Regions from separate parts of the Homo sapiens genome. Here all the other regions are linked to region 3. Evidence: promoter capture Hi-C in human tissues and cell types (Jung and others, 2019). All regions are on one chromosome and are shown on one strand. Each heading gives the region's core, a stretch centred on a gene start or on the middle of the fragment in contact. The rest is flanking DNA. Distances are from core to core; before and after follow the strand shown.

Evidence for each region. The method cuts DNA at HindIII sites, captures the fragments that hold promoters and counts their contacts. A contact is called where the count stands out against the background at its distance.
Region 1: a contact is called between a fragment that was not itself captured here and the fragment with the promoter of PHF10 in region 3, in 2 of the 25 tissues and cell types used here (dorsolateral prefrontal cortex and mesenchymal stem cells).
Region 2: a fragment that was not itself captured here is called in contact with the fragment with the promoter of PHF10 in region 3 in 2 of the 25 tissues and cell types used here (dorsolateral prefrontal cortex and mesenchymal stem cells).

What each region holds. Positions count from the first base shown.
Region 1 is chr6:169,030,682-169,034,331 of GRCh38, reverse strand. LOC101929460 (a long non-coding RNA gene) reads left to right here. Exons shown (of 2, transcript NR_134622.1): 2 at 1-161. Among named protein-coding and RNA genes, the nearest start is that of LINC01615, 130 kb to the left of the region's middle. The HindIII fragment of the contact is 5,289 bases long and covers 1-3,650 here.
Region 2 is chr6:169,199,724-169,203,115 of GRCh38, reverse strand. No RefSeq gene overlaps it. Among named protein-coding and RNA genes, the nearest start is that of THBS2-AS1, 12 kb to the left of the region's middle. The HindIII fragment of the contact is 4,562 bases long and covers 1-3,392 here.
Region 3 is chr6:169,722,972-169,726,503 of GRCh38, reverse strand. It overlaps PHF10 (PHD finger protein 10), which reads left to right and starts at 2,004. Exons shown (of 12, transcript NM_018288.4): 1 at 2,004-2,659. The coding sequence starts at 2,573. It also overlaps a transcript of DYNLT2 not described here. RefSeq lists an enhancer at 1,339-1,881 and silencers at 1,813-2,112, 2,183-2,422, 2,523-2,902. The HindIII fragment of the contact is 6,446 bases long and covers 1-3,123 here.

The DNA.
Region 1 (3,650 bases), core at 652-3,151, 690 kb after region 3:
TTCCTGTACAGCCTGCAGAACTGTGAGCCAATTTAACCTCTTTTCCTTATAAATTATGCAGCCTCAGGTATTTCTTTACAGCATTGCAATAACAGGCTAATGCATGGATCATCAAGAAGATGGATTTCCACATTTGATTAAATAATATGCAGCTAATTGGCCAATAGAGTGATTGTGCTTTATTGATCCTTTCCTACTAGGGTACGGTCTATTTGCAATCTGAGACAGCTTCTTACAAAGCAAGTTAATTATTTATTGACCACAGCATACTAAGCAGACATCTGTTTTTTTGCATCCGTCCATCAGGATACTCTTAGCAATGCTTGAGCATACTTGGTAGCCGACTCCAAGCAGTGCAAGAAAGTGCAGTCACTTTTATTTTATCCTGGAGTTATCTGCCTTAGTCCTCATCCCTATGGAAGTCTCTTCCCTGGCTGTGAACTGCCTCATTTGATTCCCTGGATTTTTAGTCTCTGTTGCTGCCCCCAGGCTACACATCAGATGAGTGCCCTTGACCTTGAAGGATGGGAAGACCACAGCAGTTGAGCTTCAATGACCCCCATTGCCACTTCACTCTCCAAGCTGGCCATTGCTTTTCATAAAGCACCGCAAAACTTAGTGTCTTTAAAAACAACACTAAATCACATTGTTCTCAAATCGAGCGTTCTTAGGGTTCAGGTCATCAGCTCACCCCAGGGGAATGTTGGACAACTGAGTCTGCAGCCATCTGTACAATGATGAAACCAAGGTTGAGCATCTTGGGAGGAGTGTGGGGTAGAAAGGTAAAACACAGTTCCTGGTTGGATTAAGGAAGGCACACGGTGACAGGATTTGGCAGCCCACTGGGGATGTCTGGCCATGTCTAAGGTTTGGAAGATGACAATTCTTTTTTTTTTTTTTAGAGTATTTTATTTTATTTTATTTTATTTTTCAGTAACTTCTTTTTTTAAATTAATTAATTTATTATTATACTTTAAGTTTTAGGGTACATGTGCACATTGTGCAGGTTAGTTACATATGTATACATGTGCCATGCTGGTGTGCTGCACCCACTAACTCGTCATCTAGCATTAGGTATATCTCCCAATGCTATCCCTCCCCCCTCCCCCCACCCCACAACAGTCCCCAGAGTGTGATATTCCCCTTCCTGTGTCCATGTGATCTCATTGTTCAATTCCCACCTATGAGTGAGAATATGCGGTGTTTGGTTTTTTGTTCTTGTGATAGTTTACTGAGAATGATGATTTCCAATTTCATCCATGTCCCTACAAAGGACATGAACTCATCATTTTTTATGGCTGCAGAGTATTCCATGGTGTATATGTGCCACATTTTCTTAATCCAGTCTGTCATTGTTGGACATTTGGGTTGGTTCCAAGTCTTTGCTATTGTGAATAATGCCACAATAAACATACGTGTGCATGTGTCTTTATAGCAGCATGATTTATAGTCCTTTGGGTATATACCCAGTAATGGGATGGCTGGGTCAAATGGTATTTCTAGTTCTAGATCCCTGAGGAATCGCCACACTGACTTCCACAATGGTTGAACTAGTTTACCGTCTCACCAACAGTGCAAAAGTGTTCCTATTTCTCCACATCCTCTCCAGCACCTGTTGTTTCCTGACTTTTTAATGATTGCCATTCTAATTGGTGTGAGATGGCCACACATCTCATTGTGGTTTTGATTTGCATTTCTCTGATGGCCAGTGATGATGAGCATTTTTTCATGTGTTTTTTGGCTGCATAAATGTCTTCTTTTGAGAAGTGTCTGTTCATGTCCTTCGCCGACTTTTTGATGGGGTTGTTTTTTTTTTTCTTGTAAATTTGTTTGAGTTCATTGTAGATTCTGGATATTAGCCCTTTGTCAGATGAGTAGGTTGTGAAAATTTTCTCCCATTTTGTGGGTTGCCTGTTCACTCTGATGGTAGTTTCCAATAGATGCAGAAAAAGCCTTTGACAAAATTCAACAACCCTTCATGCTAAAAATTCTCAATAAATTAGGTGTTGATGGGACGTATCTCAAAATAATAAGAGCTATCTATGACAAACCCACAGCCAATATCATACTGAATGGGCAAAAACCGGAAGCATTCCCTTTGAAAACTGGCACAAGATAGGGATGCCCTCTCTCACCACTCCTATTCAACATAGCGTTGGAAGTTCTGGCCAGGGCAATTAGGCAAGAGAAGGAAATAAAGGGTATTCAATTAGGAAAAGAGGAAGTCAAATTGTCCCTGTTTGCAGATGACATGATTGTATATCTAGAAAACCCCACTGTCTCAGCCCAAAATCTCCTTAAGCTGATAAGCAACTTCAGCAAAGTCTCAGGATACAAAATCAATGTACAAAAATCACAAGCATTCTTATACACCAACAACAGACAAACAGAGAGCCAAATCATGAGTGAACTCCCATTCACAATTGCTTCAAAGAGAATAACATACCTAGGAATCCAACTTACAAGGGATGCGAAGGACCTCTTCAAGGAGAACTATAAACCACTGCTCAAGGAAATAAAAGAGGATACAAACAAATGGAAGAACATTCCATGCTCATGGGTAGGAAGAATCAATATCGTGAAAATGGCCATACTGCCCAAGGTAATTTACAGATTCAGTGCCATCCCCATCAAGCTACCAATGCCTTTCTTCACAGAATTGGGAAGATGACAATTCTAATCGCCCCAGACTGGGGAACTCAATATTTACCTAAGTGTTTTTCAATCAGCTCTGGCTCTGTTGCAGGGAGCGGTGATGCTGAGGAAGTCAGAGGCAGGGGAGATAAGTGTCGGTGGAAAGGAGCATTTTGAGCAGGACTGTGCTTCTGGGTGCTGCACAGTGTGCTAGGTCTGAACTCATGATCCATGAGACAAAACGGGGAGGGCAACATGAATTCGCTCAGGCATACTTCCCTTCAGCCACAGGGCAGGAGGGTGAAGAAACCCAGGGAGGTGCACAAAGTCACTCCTGCACATGCAGACACAGGGAACAGCACCAAAGCAGAAACCACTTCTTGCCGACAGAAGAGGCATTTTCCCCTGCATGGCAGCTTATTCTTTACACAGGCACAGAACTTATTTAGACATCTGCCACATTTGGACTTCAAACTCAGCTATTTTACCAGAGATGTTTAAATTAGGAAAAGCCATGATCTATTCGAGCTTGGGACAAAAATAGCATTTGCTGTATTTGCAGATTTCTCCAGCCAATTTAATGATTGTCTTTGCAGTCAGGTGTATGTCCCAGGACTTTTTCTGCCTTCCTTTCTGCTTGAAAGCTAGTTTCCAGGCAAAATTTTCCTCTTTTGAAAAGCTATAATTACGTCAAGAAACCCTGGGTAAGTTATGCTCATTTACTTTTATTGTGGCAGTTGAAGGTTTGAGGTGCACGATTGCTAATAAAATATCAAGGCGTCACATTTCAACTGCACTTTTTCCAAGAGTAAGTCTGGCGCTTTTCGAAGCTGCAAGAGTGAGTGCACAGAGCACCGATGCTGGGCACCAAGCGTTCACTGGCTCGGGTGGATAATATTTATTAAAGAAACTGGGGCCCATGGTGTGCCATAGCTTGAGGAAGATCAGCATTCTGGAGAGTGAGGAAAACAGGGACATCTAATTTTAAAAAGGATTAAAATCATTTGTGAGGTGGC
Region 2 (3,392 bases), core at 232-2,731, 520 kb after region 3:
GACTAATAAACTCACCTTAAGACATTTCTTTTTCTTTGAGCAAAGGCCTAAGCCTTTAGGCCTAAACATATATCATCTTATACATATAAAATTAACAGTTTCTGAGAACCTAGTGTACAGAACAGTGACTACATCTCAAACTAATGTATAATGTATTGAATACTTAAAATTTGCGGAGAGTAGATCTTGTATTCTCACCACATGCATGCACACGCACCCAGTAACTATGTAAGGTGATAAACACGTTAAGCAGCTGTACTGGGGTCAACATCTCACAGTGTATACGTATAGAACCATCACATTGTACACCTTGAATGCAAACAATGTTCATTTACCAATGGATATGGTTTGGATCTGTGTCCCCGCCCAAATCTCACGTCGAATTGTAATCCTCAGTGTTGGAGGTGGGGCCTGGTGAGAGGTGAATGGGTCATGGGGGTGGAGCTCTCATGAATGGGTTAGTGCCATCCCCTGGGTGCTGTTTTTGTGATAGTGAGTTCTCGTGAGATCTGGTTGTTTAAAAGTGTGTGATACCTCCCTTTCCCTCCTTCCTCCTGCTCCAGCCATGTACGATGCGCTGGCTTCCCCTTCGCCTTCTGTCGTAATTGTAAGTTTCCTGAGGCCTCCCCAGAAGTTGAGCAGCATCATGCTTCCTGCATAGCCTGCAGAACCGTGAGCCAATGCAACCTCTTCTTTATAAGCTACCCAGTCTCAAGCATTTCTTTATAGCAGTGTGAGATCAGCCTCAAACACCAAGTATCCCTCAATACAGCTGAGAAACCAAGGTAAGCATGTGGACCACGGCAGACCAGGCCATGAGAAGTCCCGAGTCTCCCTGCTCCCCCAGGTCCACCTGTTCTCACGCCTGCTGCTCTCCGGTGGTGATGCAGACGTGGAGGGAAGACTACACTCTGGAGTGGGGCGGCCACATGTGATGTCAGCTTCACCACGCCACCCACACTGTAACTTATGTTCACTGAGCCTCACTGCTCCCGTCTCTAAGATGGGAACACACTGTCTGCCTCCCTGAGTTTCCACGAGGCCAAATGAGGCTGTGTATTTAATGCACGCGTGTGCACAGCACAGAGTTTCCCACACGTGTGTGTTCTTTTCCCTCCACTCTGCTTTTGTGCACAGACAAGTTTCAAGAGGCAGAGGAGAAGCAGCCGCGGGAGGCCTGCGCTGGAGGCAGAGCAGTGCAGGTGGCTGCCTGAGTCTGCTGCCTCTGTTTGCGAAGGAAGCGCTAGAAAAGTAGCTAAGGAGAAAATTGTAGGCTGAGGATCTTCATTCTGAGCGATGTTGGGCCTCCTGTGGCCTCCCCTAAATTTTCCCAGGGCCCCTCTGCTAGGCCCTCTGCAGTTCCCATCGGGGGTCTGCACCGTGCGACTAAAGGTATGGACTCGTCACATTCTCACGGAGATTCTCCACCCGCTGCCAGGCTCCCGGGATGCTCCATACTGGATTATTCTATATACAGTGCCTTTTGTTTTTCTGGCTGGTGATTCCATTGCTTTCATTGTTTCTTGAAGGGGTCATGATCTTAAAATTTCTAAAAACTGTTGTATTGGACAGAATGTTTCTTGACATACCATAGCGCTTCGTGTGTGTATGTGTGTGTACGTATATTCAGTGACTGAAGGCTGTGTCCAGCCCTGAGTAGATGCTACATGCCCATTACATTTTTTAAATCATTCCTGTGTTCACTACCTATTTCTGGGTCTCACATGAGGAAGCTGGGGCTCAGAATCGTGGAGGCCCTGTCTGAGGTCCCTCAGCCCGTGCCCAGCTGTGGCAGCACAGGGATTCTGGACCTCACAGCCCACAGGGATTCTGGACCTTGCCGTGGGTGCTGTGTTGTGTGTCTCATCCAACAGCGCAGACCAGATGTGCTGAGGACGTTCTGCCGGAGAGCAAGCTCAGGAGCATCTGGAGTTTTCTTATGAGGAATTCCACCATCTTGCCAGTTTGGATTTTGGGAAGCCGCTCTTTCCTGCCAGAGTAATCATGCTTTCTTTTGATGAGGAATGAGGGTGGGAACTACCAAGCTGGCTTTTGGGATGGATGGTGTTGTTGGCCAGGGCTCCCGGGCTGTGTCCAGAGGGCTGTTTGATGGCTTCACCATCTGCCCGTCTCTTTCTTGGCCTCTCAGGAGCAGAGTGGGGCTTCGTGGCTTCACTGGAGGAGAATGTGCTTGCCCCAGCTGGAATCCTGGCATGTCTAAATGTTAGTGCATCTTATACCACCCAAAGCTTAGCTCAGTTCAATTGTTGCCTGGGTAGGTAATGATTACACATCCTCTGTGTACCTGGGGAGGCTGATGGCATGAGGGTAGGACTCCTGCCCGAGGTAGGGATGAGTAAATTCCAGGGTGTCCACTGCCTGGCTTTTGGGTGCCTCCAGGTTCTCACGTGTGGAGTGAGGATGCCCATTTCAGCACCTGACTGAGTGTTTTGATGCCAGAATGACGGGACATGGGTGAAGCTGTTTGCAGATTCCCTCACACATAATATGCAGTCAGTGAAATTTAATTATTATTTTTTATTTGCAGAGAAGTATGTTATTGACCTCACCTTTGAGGAAATGTGAAGCTTTTTGGGAGCGTGTATCGTGTTGAGGCTGGTGAGCACAGGGGGCCATGTCCCTCAGTCTGGCCCAGCCACTGACTGCTTGTGTGTCCCTGGGAAAGTCACTAGCTTCCCCTGGGCTTCAATTTCCTCATCTGTGATATAGCAGAAATAATATATTCCTCATGGGGCTATTGTAAGAATTAAATTAATTCAATAGAAGAAACAAAATGGCTAATTTGAGGTGTTTTGGAGTAGCTATTAGATGAATAATAAAATGGCTAGCGGGAGCTAGAGGGTGGGCAGAGGGGTTTGGGGGAGGGAGCTGTGCATAGAACCCCCCTTGGAGAGGGCGATGGAGAGTGGGGGCAGGAAAGCGCCCACCCAGGGAGAGTTGCATTGAAGACGCAAGGCAGGGTCCAGCTATGGGGAGTTGGAAAAATGCTTCCCAGAGGAATGGGAACTGACACAGAGTCACATGTGCCTGGAGCTTGGGCCCTACTCACGCTTGCCCCTAACCCAGTCCATCAACTGTGTATAGAGCCTGGGATCTCAGCCTGCAGGTAATGAGCAGGTGAAGATGCTTCCCTCAAAAGATGTGATGGCGCAGGAGGAAGAGATGGCTGCACTGACCGGGCTGTCTATGGGGACTTCTACCCCTGGTGTCCCCTCTCCAGCACTGGGAGGCAGGTCTGGTGCAGCCTGCACCAGGGTGATTCTAAGGGTGGAGATGAGCAGTATTTACCAGACCCCCCAGATGGCCCCAAGGGGAGCAGAGGCCACAAGCTTGGCCTCGTGGCTTTGCAATTGCATAGGGTCAGCACACTC
Region 3 (3,532 bases), core at 755-3,254:
GAACGATTGATGTACCTGAATATGTCTATTTTCCCACCCCTCAGCCTGTTTGGGGCTTGAAACCCAATTTCTACTTCCATTGCACATCTACCTGTGTCTTTCTTACCTGTCTTTAAAGCAGTTTTCAAATTCTAGGTCAACCTTGAAACCTCCATTTTTTTTAGTTGGTAGTAAACTCCATTTTTTTTTTTAGTTGCTAGTTGTTTTCCCACCTAAGCTGCCTTAAAGTACAATTATATATTCGTACCATATTGTATTAGTGTTGAAGCTGCCTATAGGCAGGGATCTAATCTATACAGTGTCTCCTTAATATTCTTCTTTGCCTTGCACATTGGAAGACTGAATCAGTTATTTGTTGACTCCAGAATAAATTTGCATTTGATCTTGTCAACCTAAATAACAGACAGGTTTGCCAAACATGACAAATTTATTTGAAAGTGGGCATTGCAATGTAGAATATGGTGTCATAGTAAACTATAGGTGTATTCAGGGAGGTAAAGGAAGATAAGGGGTTTAAAAGGAAAAACGAGGAGGATTACGTAAGTTGTTTTGAAACAATTATCCTTGGCTACAAAGATCAGTAACAAAGGGGATGGCCAGTCCAAGGTTGGACAGGCAGTTGCTGCGCAAATGTCCTTGAAGCATTTTTTTGTGTAGTTTTGTGGCCTTTGTGCAAGGTTGTGGTTTTGGCAGTCTTTTGTGCTAATTCTTTATATCAGGCAATTATTAGTGAGAACTTTCCCATCACGGCTTTCCCTGACTCCATTCTCTGACAGCTTTCACAATCTAGAGACAGAATCCCGGAGGGAGAGGAGTACCAAATAGCTTAAGAGTTTTTTTTTGTTTTTGTTTTTTTTCTTAAAAAAAAAACCGCTAAACTCTACCCTGATCAGTGAAAAGAATTTAGCTGAAAGATGCAGTTTCTTCTTGGCAGATTCAGACAAGAAGTGCGGCGGAAGCTTACACCTGCACGTGGTGGGACAGAGGCAAGAACGGATGGTCTGGCTGAGGCTGAGAGAACCAAGCTGGATTAGGATCGGCTTGAGGGCCCGGCGTCGTCAGTGGTGACCTCTCTGACCTGAGGCAAGTGAGTCAGGCTGGACTGAGCGTGTTAACGTCGGTGTTTGTCAATGTGACGCGCTAGAATAATCCCTTTATCTTTCCCAACTTTTGTTTGTTGAGTGTAGGCAACTATAATGAATGGAAAGGAAACCGGATTGTACTTTAAATCCGAGAACATTCTCTACTCTCCAGAACAAGTCATCTGCAGGCGCAGGCAGTGGAATCCGTGAGGCCAGCTGTACGGCGGGCCGCCCCGGACCCAGGCTTGGCTCCTCACTTTCCGCTGTTTTTAGTGCGGTCCTACAAGTGCCCTGGTGCAGCCCGAGATCAGTAATAAATGCAGCTGAAATACACCGGCTCCCACGTTCTCGCGGGGGTACCTGCCAGGCCGGCGTCCACGCTCCTCCCCGGCTCCCGGCCGACCGCGTTCTCGGCGGAGGCATCAACCACGCGGGCACGCAAAGCCACGAGGGCCGAATCTCAGCGACTTCTTCCCGCTGTGCCTCCCGCACGCTCCGGGGCGGGCGCCGACAGCCCCCGGGTGCAGCTGCGGATGCTCGGGGAAGCGTGGCCTGGGCAGGTGGCTCCGCTGCTCTCTCGGAGCGCCACCAGCGAGAGGGGCGACCCGAGAACAAAGGCGGGAGAGGAGCGGCGACCGCGAGCGCGTAGAGGCGGAGGCCGCGCAGTCTCCGCGCGACTGCTCCGGGCAGGGCGACCCCCGGCAGAGAGGGGGCGGGGCGGGGACCCCCGGGAGGGGCGGGGAGGGGCGCGGCGGGGGCGCGGAGAGAGGGAGGGAACGAGGGTGACGCGCGGAGGGGCCGGGCCGGGGGCCGCGGGGAGGGGGCGGCTGCGAGCGCGCCAAGTGGCGACGTGCCGGGCCGGGGCGGGCCGGAGGGCGGGCGGGAGGTGGGGCGCGCCGGGGGCTGGGGGGAGCCGCGGCCGAGTACAACGCCGGGCCGTGGGGAGCCAGGCGGCGGCGGGGCTGAGGCGGCCGCGGGGCTGAGGGGAGCGGCGGGGCTGAGGCGAGCGGCGGGGCTGAGGCGAGCGGCGGGGCTGAGGCGGCCGCGGGGCTGAGGCGAGCGAGCGGCGGGGCTGAGGCGAGCGAGTGGCGGGGCTGAAGGGAGTCGCGGCGGCGCTGAGGCCAGCGGCGGAGCTGTGGGGGGCAACGGTGCTGAGGCGGTGGCCGCGGCCGGGCGGGTTGGGCTGACGTGAGAAGCGCCGCCGCCGCTGGGCCTCCTCCATTCCGGCCCGCAGCCCCGCGCCCTCCCAGCCTTTGGCGCCCTCCCGCGCGGGCGGCGCGCTGGCGACGGCCATGGCGGTGGCGGCGGCGCTGGCGGGCCGCGGGGCGCGCGGCGGCAGGGGCCGGCCCCCGGGCGGGCGGGCGGAGGGGGCGGGGCCGGGGCGGCGGGGGGCCCGCGCGGCGGCGGCGGCGGCGGCGGCGGCAGCGGCGGCGGCGGCCGGGACAAGGCGGAGGCGACGGCGGCGGCGGCGGCGCGGGGCGCTCGGGCTGATGGCGGCGGCGGCCGGGCCCGGGGCTGCGCTGTCCCCGCGGCCGTGCGACAGCGACCCAGCCACCCCCGGAGCGCAGTCCCCGAAGGTGAGGAAGCGGCCGGTGCGACCCGACCCTGACCCCGTCCCGGGCCTGGGTGCCGGGGCGTGGGCCCAGTCCCACCGGCGGCCGCCCAGCGTCTCGGGGGCGTGGGCCCAGGCCGGGCGCCGCGCCTGAGACCGGGGGTGGTCGGCGAGGCGGGGCCCCGAGGTGAGCCCGCGGCCTCTAGCGAGCAACAAGTGCGGGCGGGCGGGGGACGCGGCGCGGCTTCCCCGAAGTTGGCAGCCGGCCCTGCTTGACAAGCTTGTCCCCAAAACGCCTCCTCCTAGGCCAGCCGTGGGACGGAACGCGCCCGGGGCCGAGAGAGTTGGCCTCGGAGGGGCCTGCAGAAGCGCGCGTTCGCTCAGCGTTCATTCCGCGCATAGTTTGCCGAAGTGTTTGAACGCTTACTGCAAAAACCGAGTGGCGAACGATATGGAAAATCAACACACTCAGTGAACTTACTGTAATAACTAAGTTAATACGCAAGCGTCCGGATGTTTTCAGCGGAAGTCTGTTAAAACTTTTTACTGCTTGAGGAGGTGAAAAGAAATTGGTGCTTGTGGAGAAAATGGAGATGAGCAGTAGTGTCACGCATCAAAACGTTTTGGTTCTAAAGTTAGGCTAGCAGTTTGTGACAGAAAGTTGGAAGGGAGGAATGATGTTTTAAAAGCCTGGAAGCTTGAAATTGGATTGAAATTAGAAGGCGGTGGGAACTGGAATGCTGCAGAGCCAGCCAGCCTTCGTGCGGTGCGCGGTGTGCCGTGTGCGCGTTGGCAGGGGAAGCCGTCCTGTAGCAGCCTAGCCGGGCTGCGCCTGCTTGGGAGCTTTTCCCGTTGCGCACGTCCACCGTGCTGTGAGACTCATTTTGAAGGTTCCTCA